Linked DNA regions of Homo sapiens: region 1 is linked to region 2. The links are contacts of gene promoters, found by promoter capture Hi-C in blood cells and fetal thymus (Javierre and others, 2016). All regions are on one chromosome and are shown on one strand. Each heading gives the region's core, a stretch centred on a gene start or on the middle of the fragment in contact. The rest is flanking DNA. Distances are from core to core; before and after follow the strand shown.

Evidence for each region. The method cuts DNA at HindIII sites, captures the fragments that hold promoters and counts their contacts. A CHiCAGO score of 5 or more calls a contact.
Region 1: a contact is called between a fragment that was not itself captured here and the fragment with the promoter of PIK3AP1 in region 2, in 3 of 17 cell types (neutrophils, naive B cells and monocytes). The highest score is 6.1, in neutrophils.

What each region holds. Positions count from the first base shown.
Region 1 is chr10:96,821,454-96,826,995 of GRCh38, forward strand. No RefSeq gene overlaps it. Among named protein-coding and RNA genes, the nearest start is that of MIR607, 4.5 kb to the right of the region's middle. The HindIII fragment of the contact is 6,725 bases long and covers 1-5,542 here.
Region 2 is chr10:96,716,820-96,721,946 of GRCh38, forward strand. PIK3AP1 (phosphoinositide-3-kinase adaptor protein 1) reads right to left here and starts at 3,695. Exons shown (of 17, transcript NM_152309.3): 1 at 3,563-3,695. The coding sequence starts at 3,575. RefSeq lists enhancers at 3,217-3,326, 4,177-4,286 and silencers at 3,457-3,706, 3,757-4,056. The HindIII fragment of the contact is 16,174 bases long and covers 494-5,127 here.

The sequences.
Region 1 (5,542 bases), core at 1,653-4,152, 100 kb after region 2:
ATGTGCAATTTTGTAGCTTTCTTTTGTCACTTAAAAATGTATTGTATCAAGTCCAACAGAGCTTAAAGGTAAAAAGAAAGTGTATTGTAGATCTTACTGTATATTTATGTATACAGTATATTTTATTCTCTTTCAAAAAATAAAATAGAGATGAAGTCTTGCTATGTTGCCCAGGCTGGTCTGGAACTCCTGACCCCAAGTTATCTTCCCACCTCAGCCTCCCAAAGTATTGGAATTACAGGTGTGAGCCACTGCACCAGGCCCTGTTTCATTTTTTCTTAACTAGCTACAGGGCATTCCATTGAATGAGCAGACATTGTGACTTGTTTTATTTTTTCAACAATGAAAACTTCCTTGTACATATATCTTTATATATGTGTTGAAAATATTTTTATAGATTAAATTCCTAGAAGTAAAAATCCTGGGGAAAAAGGTATGCATATTTTATAATTAGATAAAATATCAAGATTTGGCTGGACGCGGTGGCTCATGCCTGTAATCCCAGCACTTTGGGAGGCGAAGGAGGGTGGATCACCTGAGGTCAGGAGTTCAGACTGACCAACACAGTGAAACCCTGTCTCTACTAAAATACAAAAAAATTAGCTGGGCATGGTGGTGCATGCCTGTAATCCCAGCTACTTGGGAGGCTGAGGCAAGAGAATTGCTTGAACCCAGGAGGCGGAGGTTGCAGTGAGCCAAGATCACGCCAGTGCACTCCAGCCCGGGCGACAGAACAAGACTCCATCTCAAAAAAAAAAAAAAAAAAAATTCAAGATTTTACCATAAGACCCAATCACGTCAAAAGGTGATATGATCTGCAGAGACAGCATCTGTGGAGTGGGCTTTAGGGAGGGTTTTAGTATCTTTGTGGGGGATCCATAAAATCCATGATTTACATGGATTATATCAGTTAATCCTCACAACAACTCTTTGAGGTAGGTAGTATTATTAGCCCCTTTTTACTGATGAGCAAACTGAGGTTTAGAGAGGTTAGGATTCAAACCCAAGGAATGAAAGAAAAGCTAAAGTTGTTCATCTGTGGTCTAAGATAGGAGTAAAATGGAAGAATGAGCAGATGGAAGAGAAAGAGAAGACATAACATCTAGATACAGAATAGGCCAGAGTCCTCAAACTTTTGTTATCCACAGAGAGACCCTTTTCTAGTTATGGCTTTAGCTGCTGAGAAAAATCATGCCAGACTGAACACATTTGTCTTTAAATAGCTTACATTCTATGTTGGGAGAACAAAGTATTAAAATTTGATGAGGAGGACACAATTCGCCCAAAAGCTCAGGACCACCACAGGTGATGTCTCACATGTCAGTAGGTGATTCTATTAATTAATTAATTAATTAATTAATTTATTTATTTAGACAGGGTCTCACTCTGTTGCCCAGGCTGGAGTGCAGTGTCGCTGTCTCGACTCACTGCAATCTCTACCTCCTGGGTTCAAGTGATTCTCCCCCCTCAACCTCCCGAGTAGCTGGCAGTACAGGCACCTGCCACGACACCAGGCTAATTTTGTACTTTTAGTAGAGACAGGGTTTCATCTTGTTGGCTAGGCTGGTCTCAAACTCCTGGCCTCAAGTGATCCACCCGCCTCTGCCTCCCAAATTGCTGGGATTACAGGTGTGAGCCACTGTGCCCAGCCTTATTTTATTTTTGAGACAGGGGTCACCCAGGCTGGAGTGTAGTGGCAGGATCATAGCTCACTGCAGCCTTCATCTCTCAGGCTCAAGCAATCCCTCCCCTTCAGCTTCCTGAGTAGCTAGGACAACAGGTGCACGCCACTACGCCCTGCTAATTGTTTTTTATTTTTGTACAGACGGGATCTCACTTTGTTCCCCAGGCTGGTCTTGAACTCCTGGACTCAAGAGATCCTCCCTCTTCAGCTTTCCAAAGTGTTGGGATTACAGGCATGAGCCACCACACCCAGCAGTAATTTTCAAATAAATTGTGCATATAGTAAATTTTACCTGAGGAGTGAAGTAAAGGTTAGTTGTGTCCATCTCCAGATCAACTTGACCCCTTCAAGGCTACTTCTCATTCCTGCAAAGGACAGCAGGATTCATGTAAAAGAGTATCCCTGTATTCGCTATGCAATTGATGATCTAGATTTGGAGTGCTTTGCTTTGCCTGATTGTCTTCTCTTTCTTTGTAGGTTTCCGTAGGTTTCCTACCAAAATGTATGACTGAGTCTAGTCATGAGAAAACAGTGGACAGTGGCTGGGCGTGGTGGCTCATGCCTGTAATCCCAGCACTTTGGGAGGCCGAGGTGGGTGGATCACCTGAGGTCAGGAGTTCGAGACCAGCCTGACCAACATGGAGAAACCCCGTCTCTACTAAAAATACAAAAAAAAAATTAGCCAGGCGTGATGGCGCATGCCTGTAATCCCAGCTACTCAGGAGGCTGAGGCGGGAGAATTGCTTGAACCTGGGCAGCGGAGGTTGTGGTGAGCCAAGATTGTGCCATTGCACTCCAGCCTGGGCAACAAGAGCAAAACTCCGTCTCAAAAAAAGAAAAAGAAAACAGTGGACAGTGGACATACACACCTGATATTTAGGGATGACGGTGTAGCCAGTGTGTAGCTTTTCATCTGATTATTCATATAAAGACTCAGGAGGCTGGGCATGGTGGCTTATGGCAGTAATCCCAGCACTTTGGGAGGCCTAGGCGGGCACATCACTTGAGGTCAGGAGTTTGAGACCAGCCTGGCCACCATGGTGAAACCCTGTCTCTACTAAAAATACAAAAAAAAAAAAAATTATCCAGGCTTGGTGGTGCATGCCTGTAGTCCCACCTACTCGGGAGGCTGAGGCACGAGATTCGCTTGAACCTGGGAGGCGGAGGTTGCGGTGAGCCGAGATTGCACCACTGCACTCCAGCCTGGGCAGAAAAAAAAAAAAGACTCAGAATAACAACAATAAAACCATATAGTAGGTACATGCAGAGAGAGTGAAATAAAATATGTTAAAATATTAAAACTTGGGGAATCTGAGTGAGGGGGACATGAGAATTCTTGTAACTTTTTGGTCACTTGAAATTATTTCAAAATTAATATGGAACACATTCATATTCATAATAAACATAAAACATACGTCTACACAAAAACTTGTACACAAATGTTCACAGCTGCATATTCATAATAGCCAAAAAGTGAAAACAATGAAAATATACATCAACTGAAATACATAAACAAAATTTTGTATCTAAATGATGAAATATTTAACAAGAAAAAATTAAAAAATAGATATAGGCCAGGCTCAGTGGTTCATGGCTGTAATCCCAGCACTTTGGGAGGCCAAGACTGATGGATCACTTGAGGTCAGGAGTGCGAGACTAGTCTGGCCAACATGATGAAACCCTGTCTCTACTAAAAATACAAAAATTAGCTGGGTGTGGTGGTGCACAACTGTAATCACAGCTATTTGGGAGGCTGAGACAGGAGAATCACTTGAACCGAGAGGCAGAGGTTGCAGTGAACCAAAATAGTGCCATTGCACTCCAGCCTGGGCGACAGAGTGAAACTCCATCTCAAATAATAAAAATAAAAAGTAAATACAGATACATACTACAACATAGATCAACCTTTGTTTAACAGGTTGCTATGAAAAAACTATATAGATGAACCTTAAAAACATGCTAAGTGAAAGCAGCCAGTCACAAAATACCGCATATTGGCTGGGCACAGTGACTAATGCCTATAATCCCAGCACTTTGGGAGGAGGCTGAGGTGGGCGGAACACTCGAGCCCAGGAGTTCGAGACCAGCCTGGGCAACATGGTGAAACCTGTCTTTGCAAAGAAAAAAAAAAAAAATCCCTCCAAAATTAGCCAGGCTTGGTGGCACATGCCTGTAGTCCCAGCTACTCCAGAGGCTGAGGTGGGAGGATTACTTAAGCTCAGGAGGCAGAGGCTGCAGTGAGCCAAGATTGCACCACTGCACTCCAGCCTGGGCACCAGACCAAGACTGTGTCAGAAAAAAAAAATCACATATTGCATGATTTTATTTATGTGAAATGTCCAGAATAAGAAAACTCATAGAGAAAAAACTAGATTTGGCCAGGCACGGTGGCTCACGCCTGTAATCCCAGCACTTTGGGAGGCAGAGGCGGGTGGATCATGAGGTCAGGAGATCGAGACCATCCTGGCTAACACAGTGAAACCCCGCGTCTACTAAAAATACAAAAAATTAGCCGGGCGTGGTGGCGGGCGCCTGTAGCCCCAGCTACTCGGGAGGCTGAGGCAGGAGAATGGCGTGAACCCGGGAGGCGGAGCTTGCAGTGAGCCGAGATTGCATCGCTGCACTCCAGCCTGGGCGACAGAGCGAGACTCTGTCTCAAAAAAAAAAAAAAAAAAAAAAAGAAAAAACTAGATTTGTTGTTGCCAGCGGGTGAGGAGATGGGGAATGATGAATAACTGCTGATATTTCAGGGTTTCTTTCTGGGGTGATGAAATGTTCTAAAAGTGATTGTGGTGATGGTTGCACAACTTTGTGAATATACGAAAACCCCCTGAAGTGTACATTTTATTCTTTTATTATTTTGTAATGGTACTAAGTTCTAAAGATAGTAGAAAAGCTAATATCATCAAGTTCCTTAAATGATAGTAAGAAAACCTTCCGGGCTGGGCGTGGTGGTGGGTGCCTGTAATCCCAGCTACTTGGGAGGGTGAGGCAAGAGAACTGCTTGAACCCGGGAGGTGGAGGTTGCAGAAAGCTGAGATTGTGCCACTGCACTCCAGCCTGTGTGATAGAGTGAGACTCTGTCTCAAAAAAAAAAAAAAAAAGAAAGAAAGAAAGAAAAGAAGGAAAGAAGGAAAGAAGAAAGAAAGAAAAGAAAAGAAAGAAAGACTTCTGATGCCAGAAGCCCCCTCCATCAACAATCTGTCGAGCAATGTTCTTCACTCAGAGGCTCCCATCTGACACTAGGTAGGGAAGGCGTTGGTGCCCTTTGCCCATAACTAGCCCATGACAGAATGCTGCCTTGGACAGAGCCCTCACTCACTCCAAAGAGGCCAGGAATGCTAGGTAGGGAGGAATTTACATGCCTAGGCCAGCTCTGGACCAGCCCCAGTCCTATGGTACAGAGAAGGACAGTGGCAGCTAACGAGCTTGGAAAAGTCCAAAGCCAGCCTTGTTTAACACCAGTAACAATTTTACCTCTACACTGAGGGCTAACATGCATCCAATTCCAGTTCCTCTTTCTCCATCTAAGTAACTCCAGAGGTGGCACTAAGCCTGGCCCACTCACACAATCTAGGACAGAGCAATAGTCAGACATCTCAATGGGCTCAGCTTCCCAGTAATAGGAGTTACTGAGAACAGCACTGGGGGAGCCTCTGTCCATGTCAAAAAGGAGCATCTAAGAGGGGTTACTGCCATAACTCCATCCTTCTTGCTGTGCTTTGAGAAACAGAAGCCAAATCCTACCTCCCTTCAAAGAGCTCTAGTTGCTATGGGAACCAATCCCACCCCCCACTTGAGTCCCGAGACTTAGGAGGGTATGGAGCCAGGAGGAGGCTCCCGGGTGTCTCAAGAGCA
Region 2 (5,127 bases), core at 2,445-4,944:
TTCTTTGTCCTCGTAAAACGTCAAGAACAGGTTTGGCTACAGAAGGAGAAAGAAATGGATCACAGCAGAGGAAGGGGAGGCTGTAGCAGCAGGGAGTCCATGGGGTGAAAAGCTGGGGCTGAAAGAGAGGTGCCTTTGCAGGATTCAGAGCCCAATGGAGGGCCGAGCGTGGTGGCTCACACCTGTAATCCCAGCACTTTGGGAGGCTAAGGAGGGCAGATCACTTGAGGCCAGGAGTTCAAGACCAGCCTGGCATGGTGAAACCCTGTCTCTACTAAAAATACAAAAATTAGCTGAGTATGGTGGTGGGCACCTGTAATCCCAGCTACTCGGGAGGCTGAGGCACGAGAATCACTTCAACCTGGGAGGCAGAGTTTGCAGTGAGCCAAGATCGTGTCACTGCACTCCAGCCTGGGTGACAGAGTGAGACTCCGTCTCAAAAAAAAAAAAAAAAAAACTCACTGGAGAGAAGTACAGACAGGAAGTGCCAGAAAGCTTCTCAAACCACCCAGCCCAGACCATTTCTTCAGCCTATAGGTGACTCTGGCACCCCATTCATCCATCCTGGAGCCCCATGTTTGAATCTGAACACCATATTTGAAGAGGGATGAGAGATAGGGAAGGTGACCAGGATAAGGAGAGATGTGGTCAATCATATCAGGAGCTTCCCACCCCAGAAGTTGTTCAAATTTAGGTACTGGCAAGAGTATTGAGAGGCCTCAAGGATCACATGGAAGTTAAGGTCACAAAAAGGTTAAAAGTCCCTTCAAGCTCCATGGTCCTGTAAGTCCAGGAATAGTAGAAGGATCTAAAGAGAAGAGCCTTGGAGAGAGGGGGCAAGAGACGGTATGAGAGCTGATACACAGAGGAGAGAGTACTAGTCTTTCTTCACCCAGCCACAGACTTGGCCACTTGGGAAAGTCACTCACGGATCCTCTCTTTCCTCTCTCTCACGTGTAAATACACAAGATGCCATCAGGGGCCTAGAGAATTTTGTGGAATAGGCCAAGTCCATTTCATTTTATCTTCCTACCCAAGGTCCTTTCAAAGACAGGGAGCCTAACTTCTCCTGGATTTCAACAAGCAGACATCTTTCAGAAAACAATATAGACTAATGCTTCCCCTTCAGTGGAAGGGAATTTAAGAATTAGGCCATAAAAAGGAACGAAGTACTGATATAAGCTACAGTGGGATGAACTTTGAAAATATTATGCTGTACAAAGGAAGCCAGTCACCAAAGACCACATACTATGTGATTCCATTCATATACAAGCCCAGAGTAGAGAAATCTATAGAGGCAAAGTAGATCTTAGGGCTGGGAGAGGAGAGGAGAATAAAAGGTTGATACCTAAAGCATACAAGGTTTCTTTCTGAGGTGATGAAAATGTCCCAAAATTGACTGTGGTGATGGCTACACATATCTGTAAAGATACTAAAAACCACTGAATTGTATGCTTTAAATGGATGAATTGTATGGCATGTGAATTATATCACAATAAAGCTGCTTTTAAAAGAAAAGAAGAACATACAGAAGGGTGGCTGGATGACTCCAAAGCCCACAGCACCTTGGCGAGCGGCATTGCTCTCACCACTGTGATCTTCCCCCATGGGTCCTTGTACTTCCAAACCTCAGGGAACCCGAGGGACTCCAGAGACCCAACTCTCAATTACAGCACCTGGAGTGGTGTCTCGCCACAGAAGACGCAGACAGCAAGACAGTTTGACAGCTCTAACCATTACAAACACCTGCAGAAGCTGCTACAGAGCCCATAAATAGCCCCAGGTTTGCCCACCGGACTAGGGTCCCCCTCTGAACTGGAGCTCGCCTTCCTAGCTCCTTCGGCTGTGTCCACTGGAGAGAGGTACACAGGACGCTGGAAAAGAGGAAAAGAGAGGCCATTTTCTCAGACTCTTCCACCCAAAGGCCCTCCCAGTTTGCGGTTTCCTGGACTCAGCAGCCCAGGGCCTGTTCCTGACCATGGAAGGAGGAGGCGGCTTCACTGGTTTATTATCTGGCCTCATCTCCCTCTCCCCCACAGCCCACCTACTCCAGCCACTCTGGCCTACTCCCTTTCCTTTAACGCACCACATACACTCATTGCTTGGAGCACTCTTCCCCAAAGAGCCTCCTCCCCCTGGAAATCTTGGCTCAAATGTGCCTTTCTCCACCCTGGCCACCTCATTTGAAAATCCTAACCCCAGTCTCCCTCACCCTTCTTTATCGTTTTCCCATAACACATGTCATACCAGAGATTTTCCTTATTAAGTGTATATTACCTGCTATTACTAGGCCTCCTTATTCACAACACAGCTTCTTTTAGCCTCCAGAGCCCAGCTGGAGAGCCAGGAGGCTGTGATTAACTACCTTCCCATCCCCTTTAATGAGCCTGTAGTACATGGAACAATCACTCCTGGCCTTTTCTACCTCTGCTTCCGAAGCACCCTTACCAGACCCTCAGAGGATCTGGGGAGAGCTGGCTCTTCATTCCAGTGTTTGCTCACCTCCTGTAAGAACAGTGCCTTCTCCTGGCCACCTAGATTTTCTTTTTCAAGGGGCACCTGCAACCTGTTTTCACAGGTTATCCCTACTAAAACATCATAAAGTGGGCTGGGAAAATACAAGTAAACCCATTTGTAAACACTGTAACTCTACCTCCTCTCATCTAGTAATTCCTTGTTTACTTATTGCTTTCCTCTACAGGACCATAAACTCCTGGAGAGCAGAGACTAGGTGTTTCCTGCCCACCATGGAGAACATATTAGGTGCACAGTATCCATTGGAGTGCAATAGTAAGGACTCATTAATTGTCTCCGTTATCATCATTATGTGGCTTGTCCTGGATCTCCGTCAGTGAGCGACTTGCCAAGTGTGTACACCCATGAACCAGAAGGCAACCCAAGACCAGCCAGAAAAGACGCTTGGCACCCTTTGATGAGTACATTTACCCAGTGACCGCCAACTCTCCCCATTCCCCAAAGTTCTGCAAAGGACGCAGGAAAAGTAAAGTTCAAGGAATAGTGTTCCTAGATCCCTAGCAAAGTTCTAGACCCAAAACACAAAGCCTGGGAGGGGTGGAGGAACGGGGCTTGGGGAACTGTCCCAAGGGCCTCCCCGGCTGATCTCTCCGCACCACCTAGGACTGCCTGAGCGCCCCCTGTGGGTCCACGGAGCCCAGGAGACGCGTTTGGCCCTGTAGACCATCCACATCGCCCGCCCTCCGCTTCTCTCAACTCGCCTCTCGCTTCAGAGTCGGAGGGACAGGGGAAGCGACGCTCAGACACTCCTAGGGCCAGAGGTGGAGGGAGCGAAGGAGACCCTGAAGAAGTGGGAGGGGGTCGGGCCAGGCAGGGGCTGAAGAGAATCGCGCCACAGGCTGGGACGGGAAACGTGGGAAAGTTGGAGTGGGAAGTTTGCGACAGGGAACATAGAAAAGAGCAGAAAGAGGGCAAGATCCCCGCACAGAGGACGCAAACAGAAGCAAGCGGGGGAGCGCGCCTCAAGGGATGCGGGGTACGAGAGAGGGGCCGGGAGCCCGGGGACCCGCGGCGCCTGCCTACCCACCTGAGGCTGCCATGCCGCGGGGCGCCGCTCACATCCCTGGCTCGCTGCGTGCCCGGGGCCGGGACCGGGGCCGGCGGCGTCCTGGCTCGGGCTGGAGGGGCGCCGGGCTCCGCGCGGGACCGGCCGCCGCTCTGGCGCTTCCTCCCTCAGGGCAGCCCGGCCTCGCCACGAGGGCGTGTCCACAGAGTCCGCCCCGCCTGCGGGACTCGGCCCGCGGCACCTGCACCCGCGGCCGTTGGGGAGGGGAAGTGAGAACCCCATGCCGGCCGCCGGCCAGCTCCCCCCACGGCCCCCTGCTCAGGGGCAGCGAGAAGGCGGGGGCTTCGCGCCACGTGCGCCCCACTCCTCGGGAAACCAGCCCTGATCTGCCACCAAAGGGCAGCCCGAGGTGGAGGGGGTGTGGGGAGGAGGCGGAGGGGGAGAGTGTGGGGCTGCCAGGCCTCTGGGAGACAGGGCGGGGGTGTGTGTGTGTGTGAGCACCAGCTGTCCAAGCCACCTCCTCATCGCCTGGGGCTTTGTCCCTAAGCCCCTGCTGCCCCAGCAGGAAAGGGGAGGGGACAGGAAGGGGAAGAGGAGGAGGGCTGGGCACCTGGCCCTGGGTGCTCGGCGTTGCCCTTGAGTGCCCTCCTGTGATCTTTCTGCCGTTCCTTGGATCTGGTCTCCTGATGGCACATGAACATTAATTATAATGTCACATGATAAATGTCTAATAGAGTTTCTCTGCCATTCATTTCCTGTGTTCCTGTCTGCTGGGCGCTGCGTTTAGCACCTTACACACATTATCGCATTGCATCCTCACAGCAACCTTCTGAGGTAGCACCTATCACTGTCTTTACATTGGAGCCAAAGAAACAAGCCAAATACCTTGCTCAGGCTTCCACAGAGAACAAAAGCTCCCGGAGGTTCAGTACCAAGCCAGTCTGCTTCCAGAGCTAGAACTCTTGCTTAACCCTTGCCTTCACCTGCCCTCTTCTTGGACTCCTCCCTTTGCCTGCTGCCGAAATTCAACTGAATAGCACATCCCCTTGGAGTTCTCAACAATCCAGGGGCCAGAAGATGGACCCAGAGAGCAGAGATGAGGCAAGGTTAGGGCTGAAGTCCAGGTGGAAATAAAATGAAATGGATTTAAGAACGGGAATATCAGGATGAGGCCGTGCATTCATTTTCTTCTGTTGCCATAATAAATTACTACAAATTTAGTGGCTTAAAACAACACCAACTTATCATTTTACAGTTCTGTAGCTCAGAAGTGTGACATGAGTCTCCATCGGCTAAAATCAAGGTGGTGGCTGGGCTGGGTTTCTTTCTGCCAAATAGAAGGGAATCAATTTCCTTGGCTCTTTCAGCTTCTAGAAGCCATCCACATTCCTTGGCTCATGGCCTCCTTGTTCTATCTTCAAAGCCAGATGGCCCTGCTTCTGTCATCATATCCCTTTCTCTGACTCTCTTCTGTCTCCCTCTTCCAGTTTTAAGGATCCTAGTGGCCGGGCGCGGTGGCTCACGCCTGTAATCCCAGCACTTTGGGAGGCCGAGGCGGGCGGATCACGAGGTCAGGAGATCGAGAC